Linked DNA regions of Homo sapiens: all the other regions are linked to region 1. The links are contacts of gene promoters, found by promoter capture Hi-C in blood cells and fetal thymus (Javierre and others, 2016). All regions are on one chromosome and are shown on one strand. Each heading gives the region's core, a stretch centred on a gene start or on the middle of the fragment in contact. The rest is flanking DNA. Distances are from core to core; before and after follow the strand shown.

Region 1 (3,499 bases), core at 722-3,221:
TTGGTTTCTGTCTCTTTGGGTCCTGAAAATCTGTCTCACTATTTATTATTATTATTATTATTATTATTATTTGAGACAGAGTCTCACTCTCTTTCCCAGGCTGGAGTGCAATGGCACAATCTCGGCTCACTGCAACCTCCGCCTCCTCGGTTCAAGCGATTCTCCTGCCTCAGCATCCCAGGTAGCTGGGATTATAGGCACCCACCACCACACCCAACTAATTTTTCTATTTTTCGTAGAGACGGGGTTTCACCATGCTGGCCAGGCTGGTCTCGAACTCCTGACCTCAGGTGATCAGCCTGCCTTGGGCTTTCAAAGTGCTGGGATTACAGGCATGAGCCACCGCAGCTGGCCATTTTTTTTTTCTTTCTTTTTTTTTTTTTTTTTTTTGAGACAGAGTCTCACTCTGTTGCCCAGGCTGGAGTGCAGTGGTGTGATCTCAGTTCACCACAACCTCCGCCTCCCGGGTTCAAGTAATTCTCCTGCCTCAGCCTCCCAAGTAGCTGGAATTATAGGCGCACCACCACGCCCAGCTAATTTTGTATTTTTAGTAGAGACGGAGTTTCACCATGTTGGCCAGGCTGGTCTTGAACGCCTGACCTCAGGTGATCCACCCACCTCAGCCTCCCAAAGTGCTGGGATTACAGGCATGAGCCACTGCACCTGGCCCTATTTATTATTGAAGAATCAAAATTAGGCCTAGCCTGAAAAATGAGATTATTCTTGATTTTTGAACAGGGTCCTTGAACTGTCATTTAAAACCAAATCTGGTAATCTTTAGAGGCCACTGATGAAAAATAAGGGTAACTACAAAGTGATGACACTTTGTGTGGCTCAGAATCTGTCCTCTTAGGCAGATACAGAAGTGCAGTTCTTTTTGAGTTCTGGTAGCATTGTTTTAAAAGCTGTGCACAGCCTCCTGAGATTGCTATTTTCAAAGGTAGCATTTAGTTGGATATATGTTTGGGTAGGTTTTATTTTTAAAATGCTGTTGCTTTCTAATGACCCCTTATGTTCTAATATGGAAAGGGGAGGCAAAGTATTGTGAAAAGTAGTTGGTAAAGTAGGCCGGATGTGGTGGCTCACACCTGTAATCCCAGCACTTTGGAAGGCCGAGGCGGGCGGATCACGAGGTCAAGAGATCCAGACCATCCTGGCCACATGGTGAAACCCTGTCTCTACTAAAAATACAAAAATTAGCTGGGCATGGTGGTACATGCCTGTAGTCCCAGCTACCTGGGAGGCTGAGGCAGGAGAATTGCTTGAACCCGGGAGGCAGAGGTTGCAATGAACTGAGATTGCGCCACTGCACTCCAGCCTGGTGACAGAGTAAGACTCCATCTCAAAAAAAAAAAAAAAAAGGTAGTTGGTAAAGTTGTTCACATGAACCTTATTTATAATAGTAAAACACTGATTTATAATAATAAAAAATTTGCTATAGTAACAAAAAGAGTCTAGAGTAAGAAACTAGCTGAGCAACGTGGTGTCACACTATACACCCATTAAGACAACAGGCACATGTGTCATGTCCATTTTGTGGAAAAGATATGTAAAATAATTTTAAGTAAAAAAGATAAATATAAAAAAGTGAATGCATACAAAACAATTTCACAAAATTGAATGTTACTCAAAAATCACAGCTCATTTTAAGCTGCACAAAATAGTCATTTTTTTCTTTATAATTGCTCAAATTCATAATCAAACAGAAGAAAGTTCCTGTCTTGGAAGTAGTGCTATGCCCCAATTCTTCCAGAGCCAGTACTTTAAACAATTCCATTTCATTATTTTCCTGTAGACTAATTCTTAGGACATCAGCATATCTCTCTTCAAGCATTAAAAAAATCTCTTTAGAGTCAGTGGATCAATAGACAGTTCCTGTTTTCCACACAACTGAAAGGGTGGAGCCCCCAAACCACAAGGGGAAGAAGGAAGTTAAAAGATGTTAAATACTGGGGCCAGCTCACCCTGGTCAGCCTAGCACTCTGACCTAGCAGTCAACATGAAGGCTCTCATTGTTCTGGGGCTTGTCCTCCTTTCTGTTACGGTCCAGGGCAAGGTCTTTGAAAGGTGTGAGTTGGCCAGAACTCTGAAAAGATTGGGAATGGATGGCTACAGGGGAATCAGCCTAGCAAACTGTAAGTCTACTCTCCATAATTCCAGAGAATTAGCTACGTATGGAACAGACACTAGGAGAGAAGGAAGAAGAAGAAGGGGCTTTGAGTGAATAGATGTTTTATTTCTTTGTGGGTTTGTATACTTACAATGGCTAAAAACATCAGTTTGGTTCTTTATAACCAGAGATACCCGATAAAGGAATACGGGCATGGCAGGGGAAAATTCCATTCTAAGTAAAACAGGACCTGTTGTACTGTTCTAGTGCTAGGAAGTTTGCTGGGTGCCTGAGATTCAATGGCACATGTAAGCTGACTGAAAGATACATTTGAGGACCTGGCAGAGCTCTCTCAAGTCCTTGGTATGTGACTCCAGTTATTTCCCATTTTGAACTTGGGCTCTGAGAGCCTAGAGTGATGCAGTATTTTTCTTGTCTTCAAGTCCCCTGCCGTGATGTGGGATTTTTATTTTTATTTTTATTTTATTTTATTTTATTTTTAAAGACAGTCTCACTGTGTGGCCCAGGCTGGAGTGCAGTGGCATGATCTCAGCTCACTGCAACCTCTGCCTTCTGGGCTCAAGTGATTCTCGTGCTTCAGCCTTCTGAGTAGCTGTGACTACAGGTGTGTACCACCACACCCAGCTAATTTTTTGTATTTTCAGTACAGATGGGGTTTCACCATGTTGGCCAAGCTGGTCTTGAACTCCTGGCCTCAAATGATCTGCCCACCTCAGCCTCCCAAAGTGGTAGGATTACAGGTGTGAACCACTGCACCCAGCCGACATGGGATTTTTAACAGTGATGTTTTTAAAGAATATATTGAATTCCCTACACAAGAGCAGTAGGAACCTAGTTCCCTTCAGTCACTCTTTGTATAGGATCCCAGAAACTCAGCATGAAATGTTTTATTATTTTTATCTACTCTACTTGATTAACTATCTTTCATTTTCTCCCACACAATTCAAGATGTGCCATGAGGAAAAGTTATTTTATAGTTTAGTACATAGTTGTCGATGTAATAATCTCTGTAGTTTTCAGATTGAATTCAGACATTTCCCCTCAATAGCTATTTTTGAATGAATGAGTGAAGGGATGAAATCACGGAATAGTCTTGTTTTCAAGATTCTAACTTGATATCCAAATTCACCTTTAGATATTATAAGAAAATTTCTATCAGAAAATCCTTATGTTTTTCTGATTAAAAAAAGCATTTTTCCATCAGCCTATGTATCTGCTATGAATTTACAAAATCTACTCAACAGCTCTGTTGATTTTTCTGTTCTTGGCTGAATGTTGCCTGAGGGATGGGAGCACGGGAAGGGTAAAAGCAATGGAACAAACATGTATTTTAATATTTTAAAAGTATGTTATATTGTTCGTTGGTGT
Region 2 (3,499 bases), core at 449-2,948, 310 kb after region 1:
ACAAAAAGCAACGTTGATGACTGCTTTAGATAAGAAACATGACTTGAAAACTTTTCACTCCTTTAGTCTGAAACAGGGTCTTTAGAAGCACGCTTGGTGATCAGTGCTCTGGGGGGCAGTTTTAAGTATCTTACACTGAGTGGTGAATGATGCCCTCCAGGTCTTAATGCTGTAACAGAGCAGTAGGGAAACTCCCCAGCATGACAAACCTAAAGACATTTCTTCTAAATGCTTCCATGGAAGATCTCATTGCCAACACACACTGTTCATCTCCTCCTTTCTCTGGTAGCCACTATTCCCAATATGACAGCAGAAGCTGTGCTTTAAGAACAAAATAGTTTAAAATAGAATACGTATATATTTATTTATTTAGAGACAAAGCCTCACTCTGTGACCCAGGCTGGAGTGCAGTGGCACAATCATGGCTCACTGTAGCCTTGACCTCTTGGGCTAAAGTGATCATCCCACCTTAGCCTCCCAAGTAACTAGGACCGTGGGCGTGCACCACCATGCCTGGCTAATTTTTTATTTTTGGTAGAGATGGGGTCTCCCTATGTTGCCCAGGCTGGTCTTGAACTCCTGGCCTCAAGTGGTCCTCCTGTCTTGGCTTCCCAAAGTGTTGGGATTATAGGCGAGAGCCACCACACTCAGCCTTAGAATAGTTTGAAAGAGTATTTCCCAAATGGGAGGCTGGAGTATAAATTTTAGTTTCTTTTATTTTTTTTTTTATGCTCCTTATTTGATATTTAAAGTGTCCTCTTAGTCTAGGGTTAGTACAATCCTGAGGCTCAATATAATACCACTTAACCAACTAATAGCAGAAATATTATACGATAGAATAAAAGTACCCTCATTATATTCCTATGTATTAGGGAGAGTCAGCTGAAAAAGCTAGGTTTTATGTTCTGGAACTTATTTGGACTGAGAGAGGCAGGTAATTAGAGATAGGAGGACATTCATGAAAAGTGTCATGCGGCCATCAGTTTCCAGGGATAAAATTTGAGCACTGTCTCTGTGGTGGGAAAAATAATTTATTTTGAGAGCTTGCAGAGCCAGGATTGCTGTGTCTATGCTGACACCAACCAGCTGTGTGATCTTTGGGGACTCATTTAATCTCTTGTGACTTAGCATCATTCTTGGTAAGCTGGTGATAATTATCCTTTACCTGCCTTTTAGGTTGTTTGAAAGTTCAAAAGGGGTGACCTGTGTAGAAAAGCTTTGAAAGTAGAAGATGTAAAAAGGACTCTGTCAATGACTGGCAAACTTTCAGAAGTGGTTTCCAAGTTATCATTGACTTCTCAGACAGGGTTGGAGGAGATGATAATGTGTGTCTGAAGGTCACTCCCTTTTCTTCTTCAAGATTGTCCTTTTAAAAATGTTACTACACCTAGGAGATATCACTTAACAACACCTTCAAAAGGGATGACTTAGCCATTTAATGATAAGCCATTTAATGATAGGGCACTGGGTGGGTGAAGAGGAAATATAAGAACTGGAAGAAGCTGGGTTATTTGAGGGAAGGAAGAGAGGTCTGCTCCAATGGTGAAAATTGTGGAGACAGACTGCCCTGACCTTGCCTCTCAATATTGTTTTTTTTTGTGCCATTTTCCAAACATCATCAAACCCTGCAATACACACTTATTGTGCAATAGAAACCATCAATACAAAAATATAGAAAACATGAGAATGAGAACGGTTGTGTCACATATTGGTCTATTTTTGAAAGGGAGAAGAGTAAAAGAAGGAGAAAGAGAAAAGGTTATCTTAAGCCAGTCAGGCTGGTTAGTTATAGTTGAGTCCAGAAGAAGGGAGAGCATGCATTATTTCCACAGGTTAGGTAGATGTCTGGATTAAAATTATTTTAATCTCAAGTGTTAATAAAAAACCCAAATTTCAAAATACATATGGAATACCTACACAAACATCAGCCCCATGGTTTCCCTTGCAAATGACAAATATCCAAGGGCATAAGCAGCCATGATTTAATTAGAAACTTTAAAAGATGCTTGGGCTGGTCAGGGGTGCAGAAGAACATGCTTCACCCTCTGCTGCCATAACAAAGAGGCAAGAAACAGGCTGATGAAGATGTCAGCAGACTGCCATACTTGTTGGGGTGTGTCTAATATAGAAAGACAAAAATAGCCCTGATTGCTTGAAGGATTTAATGCATTTCTCCAAAGAAAGCTTTTTGCAAAGCAACCCCCTTCTCACGAGAGTGATTAGGTAAATATAGAGCTTCAAAAAGATTGAAAGATAAAACTGGATGATGCTTGTCTCTCTTTCTCTGCTCTACTTTTGAAGCGGTATTTTGACAATTTTAATTCGAATAATAAGAGGCCTTTTTAACAGAATTGAAATGAGGAATTTAGGAAAATGATATTTAGTATGATGAATTCTACTTCTCACTGCAGATTTATTGTTTTCAAATTGCTAGTGTACTCACAGTCAGGCGACTGCCTTGGAGGGAGCCGATAATTTGCCTGAGAATCTATCAGGGCAGAGACATGTGTGGAGAAGCATTTTTTTCATGGGCAAAGCAAAATGTACTCTTCAAACCCATCTGAGGCGCATGCGGCTATTTTTAACCATCTGCACTGCAGAATCATCATCAAAGCTGTAGCCAAGGATTTATAAAATGGGCAAGGCAACCCTCCCTCTGAGCTGGGAGGTGTGGGGCTAAGGGTTATGAGGAAAATCCAGTGGACCAAATATTGTATTCATCCAGCCTCCCTCAACCCTCTTTCAGGTGGACAGTTCCAAGCTCCAGAGCATCCTAGAAGGTAGCCCAGAAAGCTGCATTTAGGGCTGATGACCCCACTACTACCCGTGTTGGCCTATCTGGTCATTGAACCAAGGGCTTTGGCAAATCTGGTTGAAGAAGTGGCCTCTTGTGCCTTTAAAGAGGCTTATCTAGCTACATCCTACCACCCTGGTTATGTTCTCTTGGCTCTTGCTGGCTGACACAAAAAGAAGTTATGGCCAAAAGTGGGGGTTCACTTAAAGTTCCCTCTTTAATATTGTTATATTCTATAGGAATTTTGTTAAAAAAGGAAATCAATCCATGTACACATCTGATACCATTTAAAGATGAAAACTGATTGCCCATGGTGACCTCACATCACAGTATGAAAGAATCCTTGAGTAAGTTCTAAAATTATAAACTTAATGCACATTCATCTCCTTGGAAGTTTCCATTTCTCCTTCCTTTCTGGTACATTAAGTGAAAAATCAATGTTCCCAGAATACACTTTTGTTGAAGTTAGTAATTCAGAATTTGAGATATTTTTGGTAGTTTGTAATATAAGCATGCAATTGTATGTATCAGACTACGTATTTTCTTGTAAAGCTAAAATATTTGAATATAGTTGACTAAAAAGGATTACTAAGTATCATCAACATAGAAGTATATTTAACCACACTTTAATAAAGTCTTCACTTACTAAAATATGTATTTTGGTATATTTGAATTAATATCACTAAAAATATTTCTGACCTACTG
Region 3 (3,499 bases), core at 741-3,240, 280 kb after region 1:
CTTTCCTCTAAGACTTGTTTTATATACAGTTGTCTATTCGACATCTCTACTTGGATGGGGTTTAATATACCCCAAATAATACTCTATTCTTTTTTTATTAGCACGCCCTCAACCTACAAGTCTTCCTCTCCTTTCCATCTCACAGAATAGCACCACAAACTACCTACTTGCTTGAGGGAAAATTTAGGAGTCACCTTCAATTCCTCCTTTCTTCAACCATATCCAGTTCATCAAATGGCTCTGATATATATCCTGAATAATCTCCTCACCCCTGCTCCCCCACTCCCTACCTCCAGAGCCATAGTCCAGTCCAAGCCACTAACACCTTTCCAAACCATTCTTCACACAGCAATCAGAGTGCTGCACAAACAAGGTAAATCAGGTCATAGAAACTGGCATAAGAACTCCAATGGCTTCGTACTGCCCCTGGAATAAAACCCGAACTCCCTACTCTGAACGCCAAGGCCTGTGTGATCTCACTTCCATCCACCTCCCCAAGGCTTTGATTCAAACGCACTCACATCTATTTGTCAGACGCACGGAGCGCTTGCCCACAGCAGGGCCTCACTGCTCCTTCCATCTGGTATACCCTTCCGATGGCTAACCCTTTTTATACTCAACTATCAGGTCAAATGGCAGCTCCTCAGAAGGCCTTCCCTGGCCTTCCAAAGCCCCCATCACATCTGAGTAAGACACCCCTCTGTCCCTAATGGTGACTACCACATTGCTCTGTTGATTTTCCTTATACCCCTCATTACACTGTGAAATTATCTTGTTCACTCATTTACCAGGTTTTGGCTGTTTCCCCCAAATGGGGATAAATGCCACAAAAGAAGGGTGTTGTCAGTCATGTGCATCATTGCATGTCTTGCTCCTGGAACAGCATGTGGGACATACTGGTTGCCAAATGTGAAAGGGAGGCAGGAGCAGATGATTTGTGTACAGGTATGTGGGGCCCGGTTCGGGGATCCAGGCGGAGTTGAGTATGATGCCTGATAGGATTGTCATGCCCAGTTGTTGCAGTTTAGATGCCAAAACCTCCACCCGAGGTGAACTCTGAAACTTCCCCGATAGCCCTACTGCAGTGCGTGGGCTTCTTCCTTCCTGGGCTGTTTTCTCACCTTTGTTACAAACAGCTTGGCAATACTAGCATGATGGAATAAGGGTTGAGAGAATCATCTTTGAGCTGGATGACCTTTGTCCTGGCACAACTGGATGGTGTTTGATCTGATGTACCCAGCACTGTCAGCAGGGGGATCCACTTCCTATCCCATCTTCACAAGGTGAAGGATCAGGAATCGGTGAAGAAACCAAGTTTTCTTTCTCATGAACAGGAGAAACGTAGGCTTTTAATATCAAATGAATGTGTGAACCCGGATTATCTGAGACAGGTCTCAGTCAGTTTAGGAAGTTTATTTTGCCAAAGTTAAAGACACATGCCAGTGACACAGCCTCAGGAGGTCCTGACGACGTGTGTCCAAGGTGGTCCGAGCACAGCTTGGTTTTGCACACACACTTTAGGGAGACATGAGACATCAATCAATATATGTAAGATGAACATTGATTCAGTCCGGAAAGGCCGGACCATTGGAAGCAGAGGCGGGGCAACTCAAAGTGGGGAGGGGGCTTCCAGGCCATAGATAGATAAGGGACAAAAAGTTGCATTCTTTTGAGTTTTTTTGTTTGTTTGCTTTAATTGAGTCAGGGTCTCACTCTGTCACCCACACTGGGGTGCAGTGGCGCCATCTCAGCACTGCAACTTTTGCCTCCCGGGTTCAAGTGATTCTCCTGCCTCAGCCTCCCAAGTAGCTGGGACTAGAGGCGCCTGCTACCATGCCCAGCTAATTTTTGTATTTTCAGTAGAGACAGGGTTTCACCACCTTGGCCAGGCTGGTCTCGAACTCCTGACCTCAAGTCATCTGATGTACCCAGCACTGTCAGTGGGGGGATCCACTTCCTATCCCACCTAGGTCTCCCAAAGTGTTAGGATTACAGGTGTGAGCCATGGAGCTTGGCCTCTTTTGAGTTTTTGATTAGCCTCTCCAATCAGATATGCATTTACCTCAGTGAGCAGAGGGATGACTTTGAATAGAATGGGAGGCAGGTTTGCCCTAAGCAGTTTCCAGCTTGACTTCTCCCTTTGGCTTAGTGATTTTGGGGCTCTAAGATTTATTTTCCTTTCACAAATGGATCTGATGACTGGAAAATGGTTCCCCTGACTCAGAGCCTCTGCTCTGACCTAGAGCACTATCTCCTTTATCTAGAACACTCTTTCTCATATACCGCGTGACTTCCTATCCCATCTTTTATATGATTGCTCAAACATCCCATTCTTCATGAGGTCCTCCTCAGCTACTTTTACAAAAATTCTTTGCTCACTTTCACCCAGCCTGCTTAGTTTTTCTCCAGAGCACTATCACCATCTACCAAGCTATAGACTTTATTGAGTGATGTGTTTATTGTCCCCCACCCTCCAGTGTAAGCTCCATCAGTGAGGAGACTTTGTTTCTTTGGTTCCCTGTGTATCTCCAGCATTCAGACCAATGCTCACCACATCACATGTGCTCACTACATATCTGCTGGATGAAATAAAATCTAGGTATCAGAATCACAGGTTCATGGCGTGGGAGGATTTCTGGGCTAAGGCATCCTAATAAGAAATGGCATCAAGCCTGAGATGTCACTGAAAATGAAGTTTAAAACAAAAAAACCAAAGCACTGAAGCTAAGTACGTGTCCCAGGGCTACAAAATTATACATCTCTTAGATTTAATGGAGCCACAAACCAAGGTACTTAGAATGAAAAAGATTTCCTTCCTTCCTTCCTCCTTCCTTCCCTCCCCCTCCCCCTTCCTTCCTTCCTACTTTCTTTCTTCCCCTTCCTTCCTTCCTTCCTTCCTTCCTTCCTTCCTTCCTTCCTTCCTTCCTTCCTTCCTTCCTTCTTTCTTTCTTTCTTTCTTTCTTTCTTTCTTTCTTTCTTTCTTTCTTTCTTTCTTTCTTTCCTTTTTCTTTTTTTGATGGAGTCTCGCTCTGTCGCCCAGGCTGGAGTGCAGTGGCGCCATCTCGGTTCACTGCAAGCTCTGCCTCCAGGGTTCACGCCATTCTCCTGCCTCAGCCTCCTGAGTAGCTGGGACTACAGGCGCCCGCCATCACACCCGGCTAATTTTTTGTATTTTTAGTAGAGATGGGGTTTCACTGTGTTGGCCAGGATGGTCTCGATCTCCTGACCTTGTGATCTACCCGCCTCGGCCTCCCAAAGTGCTGGGATTACAGGCGTGAGCCACCACTCCTGGTCTCTCTCTCTCTCTCTCTCTCTTTCTTTCTTGTTTTTCTGAGACAGAGTCTTGCTCTTGTTACCCAGGCTGGAGTACAATGGCACAATCTCAGCGCATTGCAACCTCTGCCTCCCGGGTTCAAACAATTCTCCTGCCTCAGCCTGCTGAGTAGCTGGGATTACAGATGCGCACCACCACGCCTGGCTAATTTTTATATTTTTAGTA
Region 4 (3,499 bases), core at 290-2,789, 260 kb after region 1:
ATAATAAAAGGGGCAGCTGGAGTCCACCAAGAAGTATTGTCCATCAGGGATCTTTTCAGCAGGCACTAAACTGCTGGGGAAAGAGTTTCATCTTGAGCCTTTACAACAACAAACAACTTTTTTCTGTGAATCTGACTGATTGCCTAGGTAGAAATGTCCTTTTCGGTGGCCTCAGTGATACATTGATACTGTTTATGGTCATTTACAGTAAAGAAAATATGTCCTGCAAAGAGACAGACCACCAGAATATTTAGTTCTATGGCAAATACCTTATTTGAGGAGCTCATGAGCTTCATGACCAGTCACTTCTGGAGAGTGCAGGAGTTCAGAGTGTCCCAGCCCCTTTTGCTCTTCAGTGTTTCAAAATACATGTGTGGAGAAGCTGTTTTCTTGCAAAGAAGTTATGATCTCTGGATTGTCATGCCATCATTGGCACACAACTCCCCTCTGGAAGAGGAGCTGTTTGCCAGAAATATTTTCTCAGTGTGATTTATGGCATTCCACCTGGCTCTCTCCATCAGTCTCTACTAGCAGAGCCACTCCCAAATGACCCAGAGCCATCCTTTCCACTCCAATGGAGAGGCTTCCAGAACATGCTGCAGTTGGGTCCTTGGCATTGACTTGCAACTGAAGCTCCTCAGGAGTTGGTAGGAGGAAGTAGAGGGACTGGTGCCTGTAGCTCCTGGCTTTCCTCTCTGACCAACGCATAGCGCCTGGCTTTTCTAGGGTCGGGCTCTGGCGTCTCCTCTGCCCATCTCCCCACACGGCGCACACCTTTGGCCACCTTGGGTGCGTTCCTGCAAGGATTGTGGTCATAGATGACCAGCTTCAGACTTGACAGGTGCGCCAGGCTGGGGAAGTAACGGATGCTGTTCCAGTCCACATCAATCACCTCCAGGAAGGGCATGTGAAGCAGCACAGTGGGAAAGTCAGTTAGCCGGTTGCCCGAGAGCCAGATGGTCCTCAGCTCCTGGAGGCGCCGGAGCTGGCCTGGCAGCAAACGCAGGGCGTTGGAGCCGGCATGCAGAGTCTTAAGGAGACTCAGCTCACAGACCACATCCGGCAGCTGGGTGAGGCAGTTGGCCTCGATCCACAGGGTCCTGAGGTTCTGGAGCAGGCTCAGCTCACTGGGGAGGTCGCAGAGTTTGTTGTTGCCCAGGTAGAGGATGCAGAGCTGTTTCAAGGTGCACACCACCTGGGGCAGAGCCTTGAAGTTGTTGAAATCCAAGGCCAGAATCTGCAGGTTCTGTAGCTGCCCCAGCTCCGGAGGCAGGCTATTGAGGTGGTTGTCGCTCAGGTAGAGCTTGACCAGCTCCCTGAAGGAGCACACGTGCAGGGGGAAGCGGCGTAACTGGCTCCCACTCAGATCCACCATCTTGTCCAGCGGCATCTCACGGAGGTCCCTGACCACATAGTTCTGGCAACGGTCAGCAGGGATGAAGGCCACGAGGGCCCTGATGGTGTTCCCCATGCGGAGGCTGGGGGCATGGCGAGCCCCAGAGGACAGACTCACTGAGCGGGGCTGGCTCAGCTGACTGCTCTGGGGCCTATCCTACCCTCCCATTATAACTTGGGGATTGCATGACAAAAGCCAGTCACTTTGACAGAGAAAAGTGCTCCTGATAGCAACTTGAGTGTCCGGCGACAGCGCAACAGTCCGGCAGGGGCTGGGAGGCCATGTCTGACTCACATGCTTGCCTTTAATCACCTAAGCCCCAATCCCCTTTATCAACCTTTTTTCATTTCAAGCTGAAAATAGCTTTGCTGTTTTTTTCCCTAATGATAAAATATTAACACATTACATAAAGGTGTAAAAGAAGAAAATGAAAAACACCCATAGTTCTATTACCCAGAGATAAATACTGTACACATTTGCATGTGTCCTCTAGTCTTTTCGCTATAAGTAATCATTTGTTTTTTAAAATTGCACTTTAGGAGCTTTTTTTTTTTTTTTTTTTGACAGGGTCTCATTCTGTCACACAGGCGGGAGTGCAGTGGTGCAATCTTGGCTCACTACAGCTTCTACCTCCCTGGCTCCAGCAATCCTCACACCTCAGCCTCCTGAGTAGCTGGGACTACAGGTGCACACCACCGTGCCCAGCTAATTTTTGTATTTTTTGTAGAGATGAGGTTTCGCCATGTTGCCCAGGCTGGTCTTGAACTCCTGGGCTCAAGAGATCTGCCCGCCCTGGCCTCTCAAAATGCTGGGATTACAGGCGTGAGCCATGGTACTTGACCAGGAACCTTATTTTTTAATCATGACGTATCATGGACATATTTTCATGTTTGCAGATATCTATGCAATTATTTTAAACCCCTGCATAGTATTCCATTACATGGATGTGCAGTAATTTAAACAGTTTTCTGTGGTTAGGCATCTAGGTTGTTTACAAAGCATGACTATTATAAACATCCATGTGCATACAGATGTGAGCAGCAATCCACTCATTTCTTTAGAAACCGTCCTTAGAAGTGTTGCTGGAGCAGGCCAGGTGTGGTGGCTCACGCCTGTAATCCCAGCACTTTGGGAGGCCAAGGTGAGCCAATCACTTAAGCCCAGGAGTTTGAGGTCAGCTTAGGCTACATGGTAAAACCCCATCTCTACTAAAAAAAACAAAAATTAGCTGGGTGTGGTGGCACACACCTATAATCCCAAGTACTTGGGAGGCTGAGGCAGGAGAATGGCGTGAACCCAGGAGGCGGAGCTTGCAGTGAGCCGAGATTGCGCTACTGCACTCCAGCCTGGGCGACAGAGCAAGACTCCATCTCAAAAAAAAAAAAAAAAAAAGTGTTGCTGGATCATAGATATGCATCATTTACAGGTTTTTCATTGATGGCTCCTCTGTACCCCACCAAATCTGAGCCAGTACACACACCCACCAGCAATGGTTACAGGTTTCTAATTTCTCATGTCTTCATTCTTATCAGATGATATCTTTCCACAGTTTAAAAACTTGCCTTTGACAAAAGATAAGTAGAAAAGCAGAAGAAAGAGAAGCAAGCTAGCCTTCTGCATGTTAAATAAATTCGGATGTATTCCTACAGTGCACCTTTGTCAGGTATGTTTGACCACCCATTAAAGGTTTGTGTTTCCCTTCCACAGTGTCCAGTTGTTCCAGACAAGCAGCTGTCCAGCCAGGACAATTTCCTAGTGCTGGTCTACAGGGGAAACTCTTCAAGTTCTGGCCAAAGTAATGTGGGCAGAAGTGTTAGATGTCACCTCTAGACTTGGTTCATTGTAAAACAAACCTTTTGCCCTTCTCCACACTCTCCTTCCCCATCTACTGGCTGGATGTTGTCACCCAGAGTGACTATAGCAGCCACCAAGTATATGGAAGTCATATGTTGCAGGTGGCAGGGCCGTGGTCATCCTAGATTCCTGAATAAGTGCTAAGAGCAAAACATCTCCTTACCCTCCTCACTCCCACTTGATCCCCAATAGGATTGAGGTAAATGAGAAATAAATGTTAATTATGTGAAGTCATCGAGATTGGGGGCT

What was found. Contacts are between HindIII fragments. The CHiCAGO score rates a contact against its expected background, and 5 or more counts as called.
Region 2: a contact is called between a fragment that was not itself captured here and the fragment with the promoter of LYZ in region 1, in 2 of 17 cell types (erythroblasts and activated CD4 T cells). The highest score is 5.4, in erythroblasts.
Region 3: a contact is called between a fragment that was not itself captured here and the fragment with the promoter of LYZ in region 1, in 9 of 17 cell types (activated CD4 T cells, naive B cells, total CD8 T cells and 6 more). The highest score is 8.3, in activated CD4 T cells.
Region 4: the fragment with the promoter of LRRC10 here is called in contact with the fragment with the promoter of LYZ in region 1 in 11 of 17 cell types (activated CD4 T cells, naive CD8 T cells, non-activated CD4 T cells and 8 more); the score reaches 8.8 in activated CD4 T cells.

What each region holds. Positions count from the first base shown.
Region 1 is chr12:69,346,410-69,349,908 of GRCh38, forward strand. LYZ (lysozyme) reads left to right here and starts at 1,972. Exons shown (of 4, transcript NM_000239.3): 1 at 1,972-2,135. The coding sequence starts at 2,000. The HindIII fragment of the contact is 11,988 bases long and covers 1-3,499 here.
Region 2 is chr12:69,659,000-69,662,498 of GRCh38, forward strand. The region is part of intron 9 of BEST3 (bestrophin 3); the gene reads right to left. All of the region lies in intron 3 of LOC105369823 (a long non-coding RNA gene), which reads left to right. Among named protein-coding and RNA genes, the nearest start is that of BEST3, 39 kb to the right of the region's middle. The HindIII fragment of the contact is 968 bases long and covers 1,215-2,182 here.
Region 3 is chr12:69,629,166-69,632,664 of GRCh38, forward strand. The region is part of intron 2 of LOC105369823 (a long non-coding RNA gene); the gene reads left to right. Among named protein-coding and RNA genes, the nearest start is that of LRRC10, 20 kb to the left of the region's middle. The HindIII fragment of the contact is 8,060 bases long and covers 1-3,499 here.
Region 4 is chr12:69,609,368-69,612,866 of GRCh38, forward strand. LRRC10 (leucine rich repeat containing 10) reads right to left here and starts at 1,540. Exons shown (of 1, transcript NM_201550.4): 1 at 1-1,540. The coding sequence starts at 1,471. The coding sequence ends at 638. The HindIII fragment of the contact is 9,863 bases long and covers 1-3,499 here.